Regions from separate parts of the Homo sapiens genome. Here region 1 is linked to region 2. Evidence: promoter capture Hi-C in 16 types of primary human blood cells and fetal thymus (Javierre and others, 2016). All regions are on one chromosome and are shown on one strand. The core of a region is centred on a gene start or on the middle of the fragment in contact, and the rest is flanking DNA. Distances in the headings are between cores, read along the strand shown. Region 1 overlaps FGD2 (FYVE, RhoGEF and PH domain containing 2). Region 2 holds the start of PIM1 (Pim-1 proto-oncogene, serine/threonine kinase).

Region 1 (4,572 bases), core at 1,000-3,499, 160 kb before region 2:
GAGACCCCAGGGCGCTAGGTTCAGCCTCCTAGGCCCAGGCCCTTATTGTGTGGCCATGCCTCCCTGGGGCTCGGTCTGTCTGCACAGTGAAGGGCTTGGGTGAATGAGCTCTGAGAGGCTGTGTGTGTGCAGACTGCTTCCTGGGGAAAGGGGTGGATCAGGTCCTGGCCAAGCCAAGTGACCAAGTGACTTTGGGACAGTGAAAATAGCCAGTGCCAACTGAGGGCTTCCTACACGCCTGGCCTTGGGCTTTCCCTCTATTAACTCCCTCAATCTTCACATCAGCCTGCTGTGTGATGACGGCATCATGGTTATGCAAGAAACCCTCTTGTTTTCACAGATGGCCACTAAAGCATTTAACAGTGAAGTTACTTGCCTTATATAGTTTGCCACGAAGTCTAGGATGTCCTTTAAGATCTTTGGCAAAGAAGAATGCTAGTAATTGTTAAACCTAGTGATGTATTGATTGCTTAAAACATTTATAATAAACTGTTGTTTTTTTTTAAGATAATAATAGCCAGGTTCGGTGGCTCATGCCTGTAATCCCAGCACTTTGGGAGGCCAAGGTGGGTGGATCACTTGAGCTTAAGAGTTTGAGACCACTCTGGGCAACATGGTAAAACCCCATCTCTACCAAAAATACAAAACTTAGCCGGGCATGGTAGCAGGCACCTGTAGTCCCAGCTACTCAGGAGGCTGAGGTTGGAGGATTGCTGGAGCCCGGAAAGTCGAGGCTGCAGTGAGCCATGATTGTGCCACTGCACTCCAGCCTGGGTGACAGAGAGAGACCCTGACTTAAAAAAAAAAAAAAAAGAAAGAAAAGAAAAGAGAAGGATATAACCCTATGAGATCGCCTGCCATCATTCCAATTTTTTTCAATGAGAAAATCAGGGTACAAAGATGCTAAGTGACTTACCTGGGAACACAGCTAGCATGATTTGTGCATCCCAGGAGTCAGGCTCAGGAAGCCTCACTCCCAGGCCATGGCCATGGCTCCCTGCTGCTCTGCTCTAGCAGGCCCTGCCATGGGATGATCCTGGAAAAGTTCTGTGTGTGTGTGTGTGTGTGTGTGTATACATATATATACGTGTATATATATGTATATATATTATTTTTTTTCAGTGTGAGGGGCATGGAATGAGGTTTCACCATGCTGCTCAGGCTGGTCTTGAACTCCTGGGCTCAACCTGCCTGCCTGCCTCAGGCCTTGCAGAGTGCTGCGAGTACAGGTGTAAGCCACTGTGGCTGGCCAATCCTGGAGAAGTTCGTACCCCTCTGAGCCTCCACTTCCTCACCTCTATGATGGGCTAGTGGCTGCCCCCACCTACAGGGTTGTGAGAATTACATGGAATGAGACATGCATCATGTCCTGGGTAGTGCTTGGTAGGTAGCCCTCGTTATTGTTACATAATGAAGCACTGAGCAGTTACTGAACACCTGCTGTGGGCCCAACACTGTGCCGGGCCTTGTGGATGAGGCCAACCTGGGACCAGAACAGCCTTTGGCCTCAGGAGGCTCACAGTCTAAGGAGTAGAGGGGCGCATGTGAGGATGACACCCCCGTACCCCGCCCACACCCAGAATTGCCGTGGAAAGTTTGCTTTGGGGGATTCAGGGAGCCTGGCCTCACCTGGCCCTATCTAGAGTCGAGAGGAGGTCTCTAGGCTGAGGGCAATCCCTGTGCCCCTCCTGCAGGACAGCTAACCCCCGCATCGGTGACGTGATCCAGAAGCTGGCCCCCTTCCTGAAGATGTACAGTGAGTATGTCAAGAACTTTGAGCGAGCGGCTGAGCTGCTGGCCACCTGGACCGACAAGTCTCCACTCTTCCAGGAGGTTCTCACTCGCATCCAGGTGAGGCTGGGGGAGGGCTGGAGTCAGCATTGCCACTCCCAGCATGCAGTGGCTCAGGTTGCCTTGAGTGATTCCGGGCATCTCCCAGGCTCAGCTGCTTCCATAGGCCCCTGCCTACTCGTCCGGCCCTCAGGAGCAGCCTGACCCACCTCCCTTCTCTCACCCTCTCCGTGTTGCTCCCCCATCCCTCCCCAAGAGCAGCGAGGCTTCGGGCAGCCTGACCCTGCAGCACCACATGCTGGAACCAGTGCAGAGAATTCCACGTTACGAGCTGCTGCTCAAGGAGTACATCCAGAAGCTGCCAGCCCAGGCCCCAGACCAGGCCGATGCCCAGAGTGAGGACACCCCCAGGGGTCCCAGGGGGCTGAGGAGGCCTAAGCCATTCCCATATACTTACTGAGCTCCTGCTAAAATGGTTTTGACGACCATCAGTCATCAACATCAACCACTGGCACTTCATAGACATCATCCATACCATTAGCCATTTTTCACAGATGAGGACACTAAGGCCCAGAGAGGTTTAGTGACTTGCTCAAGGTCACGCAGCCAGAGAGTAGCAGAACTGGGATTTGAACCCATGCCTATGTGATACCAAAGCCCATGCTCCTTCCATTATACCCTCTAGGTCTGGCTTGTTTTGGGAAGCAGTGAGAGTCACCAAAGCCAAACACCTAATGGCTAACGTTCAGTGGCTTCCAGTCTCTCAGCCCTGGGGGGCTCCCGCCATTCAGACACCCCATGGCTGGGCTGCACAGGCAGGGCTGCTCCTGGGGGCTGTCATGGCAGGTCCTGAGGGCCCTTTGTTGAACTTCAAGGACCTCCTGCCCCAGCCACCAGCCCTAGATTCTCAGGGAATAAACTCCGGCCCTGCCCCTTTCAGAAGCCCTGGACATGATCTTCTCAGCTGCCCAGCACTCCAATGCAGCCATCACTGAGATGGTAAGCAGCCCGCCCTCTCCTGGAGCCCTGTCCCCCTCCCTGCAGGTCTCAGCCTGGTCCCACCCATGACACCTATCCCACTGCTGCCCTCACTGTTACCCCCCAGTCCCCGTCCCCACAAGGCAAGCCTTCCAGAAGCAGGTGAGCCCTGCCCAGACTTGGCTGAGGATGCACCCCAACCCCCTAGGAGCGGCTGCAGGACCTGTGGGAGGTGTACCAGCGCCTGGGCCTCGAGGACGACATAGTAGACCCCTCTAACACCCTGCTCCGTGAGGGCCCGGTCCTCAAGATCTCCTTCCGCCGCAACGACCCCATGGAGCGCTACCTTTTCTTGGTAAGAGGGTGCTGGGAGCTCCTCTCCACACTGGGGAGGGAAGTCCATGGGCCACTCTGGCCCGAGTCATACTGCCTGGCCTCTACCTGGCACTGCAGGGGGACAGGGAAGAGAACGCTTCTCTGTCTTTTTCTGCTTTGGCACCCAGATGACTTTGGACAGGTCACCTGCTGCCTCTAAGCCTCAGAGATTTCCAACCCACAGGTTTCCCAGACATGTCCTAGGAAGCAACAGAGTCAGAGTTTGAACCCAGTCTGACTGCAAAGCCTGTGATATTAATCTGTGCTCTAGAGAGCGCACAGCAGGAAGGAGTAAGGTTAGCTACTAGGAAGAACTGCCCTGGGTTTGCACGGAAGAAGCCGGGGGATCTCCTGACACCTGGAAAGGTGGTCCTGCCTGGAGGTCTGGGGAACAGAGATATAACCTCTTGTAAACCCCTGCCATCCTGAGCCCCTGTTGAGAAAGGCCTTGTAGGTTTCTGAGGTCTGCTATGGTCCCTTGTAGGGTGACCCTTCAGTAACCATCCTAGGGGAATTGGGAGCTTGACAGCCCCTTCCTCATCACCTACATCATCACCTGTGATGTCCTGTGAGCAGGCTGGCCAGAGTGTGTTCAAAGGGGAGCGGGTCCAGTGGTGCTCAGCCCATGCTCGGCCCACCCTCGGGGAAACCCCACCTAGCCATCCTCCCTGCCCCTGCCACGGGCCACTCACGCCTGTGTCTCCTGCAGTTCAACAACATGCTGCTCTACTGTGTGCCCAGGGTGATCCAGGTGGGCGCCCAGTTCCAGGTGAGGACCCGCATCGATGTGGCCGGGATGAAGGTAAGAGGCCCCCTAAACACCACTGGGCTCCACCTCAAGGGTAGGACTGAGTACAGGGAGTAAGAGGAGGGGCCAACCAGGTTCTCAATCACAGAACCAAACCCTTGCAGGGCCTGGGCAAACATGGAGATGGAAGAGTGTGGGGCTCTCCCCTCTGGGATCCTAGCCCTCCTGCCCTGTCCTTCCCAGCTTCCCACAGGTTTGGCCCTCCCTTCGCGGCAGTGCATGAGCCAGCTTGGCCTTTCTGTGCTTTCCCTACTGTTTATACCACTGCTTCAAAAACTTTCATGTGTGCGCGAATCCTCTGGGCATCTTGTAAAAATGCAGGTTCTGAATCAGGAGGTCTGGGTGGGGGGGTGCCTGAGATCCTGCATTTCTAACCAGCTCCCAGTTAAGATGGGCTGACAACTGACCCCACCTGCAGGATTGTGAGAATTAAATGAAATGAGACATATCCTGGGCAGTGTATGCTGATACTGTAGGAGCACAGAACACGTTTTGAGTAGGAAAGGTCTCCAGTGTCAGCTCAGCGGCTGGCTTGTGTGTGTCCCCATCTACCTCATCCAGAGATTATGGCAAATGAGCAGGGCCAGTAGTCCATGATGGAGCCCATGGGGGGACCACAA
Region 2 (4,938 bases), core at 1,775-4,274:
CCAGGCGTGGTGGCAGGCGCCTGTAGTCCCAGCTACTCGGGAGGCTGAGGCAGGAGAATGGCGTGAACCTGGGAGGCAGAGCTTGCAGTGAGCCAAGATTGCGCCACTGTACTCCAGCCTGGGAGACAGAGCGAGACTCCGTCTCAAAAAAAAAAAAAAAAAAAAAAAGGCCGTTTTAAAAAACATCATCATCATAACCACGATCAACATTATTGCCATCATCATTGCTAATATTTATTAGAAGTTTACTCTGTACTGGGTTATATGCTTTACAAACAAGAGTTTTATTTGCTCCTTACAACAACCCTATGAGGTAGATGCTGTTATTATCTCCATTCTGTCTAAAGCTTAATAAGGTTAAGTAACTTGACCAATGCCTAACTAGTAGCTGCCAGATCCCGGAATTGAAACCAGGCTAACTTAGTTTAAAGCCCTTGCTCCCAACTTTTATGTTCCCGAAGCCCACTTAATTCATTTAAATTTGGTATAAATTGACTTTAATTATGGCCTTTTTGTTAGAATCCATTATAGTCTTCTCTTTTATCAACAAATGTTGGATAAAGTATGCATTCAGGGAGGCTGGGCATGGTGGCTCACACCTGTAATCCAAGGAGGCTGGGCATGGTGGTTCACACCTGTAATCCCAGCACTTTGGGAGGCCGAGGCAGGCGGATCATAAGGTCAGGAGTTCGAGACCAGCCTGGCCAACATGGTGAAACTCCGTCTCTACTAAAAATACAAAAATTAGCTGGGCATGGTGGCGGGCGCTTGTAATCCCAGCTACTTGGGAGGCTGAGGCAGGAGAACCAATTGTTTGAACCCGGGAGATGGAGGTTGCAGTGAGCCGAGATAGTGCCATTGCACTCTAGCCTGGGTAACAGGGCGAGATTCCGTCTCAAAAAAAAAAAAAAAAAGGGCATTCAAGGAATAGGAAGACAAAGTATAATGGAAAAGTAAATGAACAAAAAGGATTTAAAAAAACAAATCCCAACTGTCAGATTAGTGGACAGTGAACCAATGCTCTGAGTTTGTTCATCAATCTGTGGTAGAACTACAATTGTTTCCTAAAGAGTGGAAAGGCTTTGAATAAAAGTGGAGAGGTAGAGAGGGCTCTCCCAGGACAGGTTGATTGCTTCCGCAAAGGCAAAGGGTCTGTAAAGTGCTAGGCGAGTGGGAACAAGTGGGAATAGTTCTGTTTGACTACATTTGAGGGTTTGAGAAAGGAAAGGGAGGGTAGAAGGGATGGAAGTGGGAATCACATATGTTTAATGATGTCTTGTTCGGTGCCAAGGACAGTTTTAGACCCTGATAAGCGGAAAGCTTTGAATACTCAGGAGGTGAATTTGGGTCATTTCATCTCCTCTCTTAGCTGCTGTATGACCCTGTGCCATCCTATTTATGTTTCATTTTCCTATCTGCAAAAAGGGAGTAATTCTTGTTCCCTTGGGTTTTCTCCTAGTCATAAAAAATGAATGAGTTCGGCCACAGTACACAAACAAAAGGAAAATATGTAATATTTTGTAGGATAAATTCATAAAAGTTGTGGAGGATCTGGGCACTTTTATAAAGCAAGCACTGTAGAAAACTTTCAAAGGAAACATTTAAATTCACTAATGACAGCTATAGGGATCCTGATTTTTCCTTTAAATGGCAGGCACTTCAAAAAATTAAAATAGAATGTAGTTAGCTTTCAATTACTTAGGCCACTGACAATTCAATTTATGGATTATATAGTATTTTAATTTACTCATTTCACACGTCGTTATCAACTCTACATGAAGTTTAAAAGGACAAAGGATGCAAGTGGAATTGGTCAGTGTTCCGGGTTATTTCCAAGGGAGGCAGAGGGTGGGGGGTTTCCTTTGAGACAAGACTTGGGGTTGGCCAATAATTGCTGGTATTGCCTGCCTGGTAATAACAGGCTGATGAAAAGGTGACTACAACGTGAAAACTGGTTAAATCAAGCGCACCCTCCCACCCTCGTTTTAGATGAGGAATTTTCCGCCCTCACAGAAGGGGCTGAGGCAGCATCTGGCATCACAACACTAACATTTGCTTCGTGATTTCCTCTTTACCCGGCCCTTTGACACACATCCCTTCCCAGAAATCAGGATTCGCTGGTGCTTTTGCATTTCTAAAATGGGAATCCCGTGGCTGAGCTTTTAGCCGGCCGGAACGACTGAGGGCTGCATCCCTTTCCCGCAGGAGCGGGGCTCCCGCCTCCAGTTCTGTTCCAGGCCTGACTCCTCCACTCCCTCCGTGACTCATGTCCTGCGGATCCTTCGCCCCCGACGCGCCCCCCAACACACAAACCCCCAGAATCCGCCCCCAGCCTACAGCGCGACGTCAGCCCGCCCCAGCCGACTTGGAGGTCTCGGGTCTGAGTCACACAGAAAGACCACCCTCGTCGGCATCCCCACACACAGTCCGACACCCGGCGCGCCGGCCTCCCCGCCTGACACACTAACGCCCGTCGTCTCCGCGCAACTTGTTATGCTCCGGCTCGAGCCCTTGACCCAAAACCCTCAGCGAAACGGAGAGCCGCAGAGCCGGCCTCGGGCGGCCTTTGATGGCTTTGTTATTGTTTGGGTTTGAATCGATACGCCCCTCCCCATCCTTCCTCCCTCGCGGCCCTACACCCAGCTCCCGCCTCCCCTCACGCCCCGCGCCCCTCCCCCTCCATTTTGGCGCCTTTTCCTTCCCGCCACGTCGTGGCGGCGTAGAGACCATTCTGACCGCGAGAGCTGGGCGGGGCGGGGGCGGGGCGCGCCGAGTTATGCAGATCAATCGGCCTCTGGTTGGCTGGAGTAGCGCTGGCAGGGGCGGGGCCGGGGCGCGGCCACAGAGCGCGCGGGGCGGGGGCCGAGGGGAGTCGCCCAGTCCCGCCGCTTCCCCACCCCCTCTCCTCCCTCGGCCGGCCCGGCAGCCCTGCTCCCCGCCTTGGCCTCCCGGAGAGGCCCCGCCCCGTCCCCGCCCGCCGCGCCCTCCCCGCGCGCCCTCCCCGCCGGCGCGCTCCTCCCCTTTACTCCTGGCTGCGGGGCGAGCCGGGCGTCTGCTGCAGCGGCCGCGGTGGCTGAGGAGGCCCGAGAGGAGTCGGTGGCAGCGGCGGCGGCGGGACCGGCAGCAGCAGCAGCAGCAGCAGCAGCAGCAACCACTAGCCTCCTGCCCCGCGGCGCTGCCGCACGAGCCCCACGAGCCGCTCACCCCGCCGTTCTCAGCGCTGCCCGACCCCGCTGGCGCGCCCTCCCGCCGCCAGTCCCGGCAGCGCCCTCAGTTGTCCTCCGACTCGCCCTCGGCCTTCCGCGCCAGCCGCAGCCACAGCCGCAACGCCACCCGCAGCCACAGCCACAGCCACAGCCCCAGGCATAGCCTTCGGCACAGCCCCGGCTCCGGCTCCTGCGGCAGCTCCTCTGGGCACCGTCCCTGCGCCGACATCCTGGAGGTTGGGATGCTCTTGTCCAAAATCAACTCGCTTGCCCACCTGCGCGCCGCGCCCTGCAACGACCTGCACGCCACCAAGCTGGCGCCCGGTGAGAGCACCCCCCGCCTCCGGCCCGGGGATGCGGGGCGGCGGCGGGATCTCCTGGGTGGGGAGCTGGCGGCTCGCGGGCCGGCACTGAGTCCCCGTGCTTCCCCCTTTCCTAGGCAAGGAGAAGGAGCCCCTGGAGTCGCAGTACCAGGTGGGCCCGCTACTGGGCAGCGGCGGCTTCGGCTCGGTCTACTCAGGCATCCGCGTCTCCGACAACTTGCCGGTGAGTGGGCGCCCCGCGGTGGGGAGGGCGCGCCGGGCGGGGGGCGCACGGGCGTGCTTTAGCCCGGACGAGGGAACCTGACGGAGACCCTGGGCTTCCAGGTGGCCATCAAACACGTGGAGAAGGACCGGATTTCCGACTGGGGAGAGCTGGTGAGTGCCCTGCAGGAGCGACCCCCAGGATGAGTGGGTGGGGTGAGGGGCGCCCCCGACTCCCGCCCTAACGCGGCCCCCTCGCCCCTGCAGCCTAATGGCACTCGAGTGCCCATGGAAGTGGTCCTGCTGAAGAAGGTGAGCTCGGGTTTCTCCGGCGTCATTAGGCTCCTGGACTGGTTCGAGAGGCCCGACAGTTTCGTCCTGATCCTGGAGAGGCCCGAGCCGGTGCAAGATCTCTTCGACTTCATCACGGAAAGGGGAGCCCTGCAAGAGGAGCTGGCCCGCAGCTTCTTCTGGCAGGTGCTGGAGGCCGTGCGGCACTGCCACAACTGCGGGGTGCTCCACCGCGACATCAAGGACGAAAACATCCTTATCGACCTCAATCGCGGCGAGCTCAAGCTCATCGACTTCGGGTCGGGGGCGCTGCTCAAGGACACCGTCTACACGGACTTCGATGGTGAGCCAGGCCCGGGAGGGAGCTGCCCAGGTGACTCGGCCCGGCCCGGCCCAGTCCGGAGGCCTCGGCCAGTCTCCCGCGCCAGCCTTTTGTAAAGGTCATTGGGCCGCCTGGCTCGATGCTAGCCGGGGTGGGACGCAGGAGAGCCTCCCAGCGTAGTAAAGCCGGGGATTTTCAGCCAGCTGAACCTGTAATGTTTCTGGCATGATTTTATTCTTCAAGTGGAATTCAGTTAGTTCCAGGCTTTCCCGATGAATAAGAGGTTGTGGGCAACCGGCGGTAGCCCAGATTTTTCTAAAGTCTGACCCAGTTTCCCCGCCAGTAAAAGGATGGGGGCGGGGGAAGAGGTGGAAATTGATGCCGGTTTTGTAATTTTTGTTTTATTTTATAAGGGAGTTAGTTTTCTGTATGGTAGTTTTAGAGCTGCAGTTCTTAACTCCTTTCTGATCTAGGGAAGGTTAAGGAATAGGAACTATATTATTACTGGTGGCTTTTTTTTTTCTTTAGTGTTAAGGGGAGAGAGAGTCAGGAATGAATGTTGTGAAATAAGATCTGTCGCTGGTTTGAAAATTAG

Evidence for each region. Contacts are between HindIII fragments. The CHiCAGO score rates a contact against its expected background, and 5 or more counts as called.
Region 1: a contact is called between a fragment that was not itself captured here and the fragment with the promoter of PIM1 in region 2, in 17 of 17 cell types (activated CD4 T cells, naive CD8 T cells, total CD8 T cells and 14 more). The highest score is 18.3, in activated CD4 T cells.

What each region holds. Positions count from the first base shown.
Region 1 is chr6:37,011,915-37,016,486 of GRCh38, forward strand. It overlaps FGD2 (FYVE, RhoGEF and PH domain containing 2), which reads left to right. Exons shown (of 16, transcript NM_173558.4): 5 at 1,695-1,851; 6 at 2,048-2,186; 7 at 2,732-2,790; 8 at 2,978-3,124; 9 at 3,854-3,946. Among named protein-coding and RNA genes, the nearest start is that of FGD2, 8.5 kb to the left of the region's middle. RefSeq lists enhancers at 1-456, 1,887-2,604. The HindIII fragment of the contact is 6,835 bases long and covers 1-4,572 here.
Region 2 is chr6:37,167,128-37,172,065 of GRCh38, forward strand. It overlaps PIM1 (Pim-1 proto-oncogene, serine/threonine kinase), which reads left to right and starts at 3,025. Exons shown (of 6, transcript NM_002648.4): 1 at 3,025-3,530; 2 at 3,646-3,752; 3 at 3,854-3,904; 4 at 3,998-4,364. The coding sequence starts at 3,449. RefSeq lists enhancers at 2,270-2,868, 4,790-4,938 and silencers at 2,494-3,273, 3,534-3,853. The HindIII fragment of the contact is 5,698 bases long and covers 1,319-4,938 here.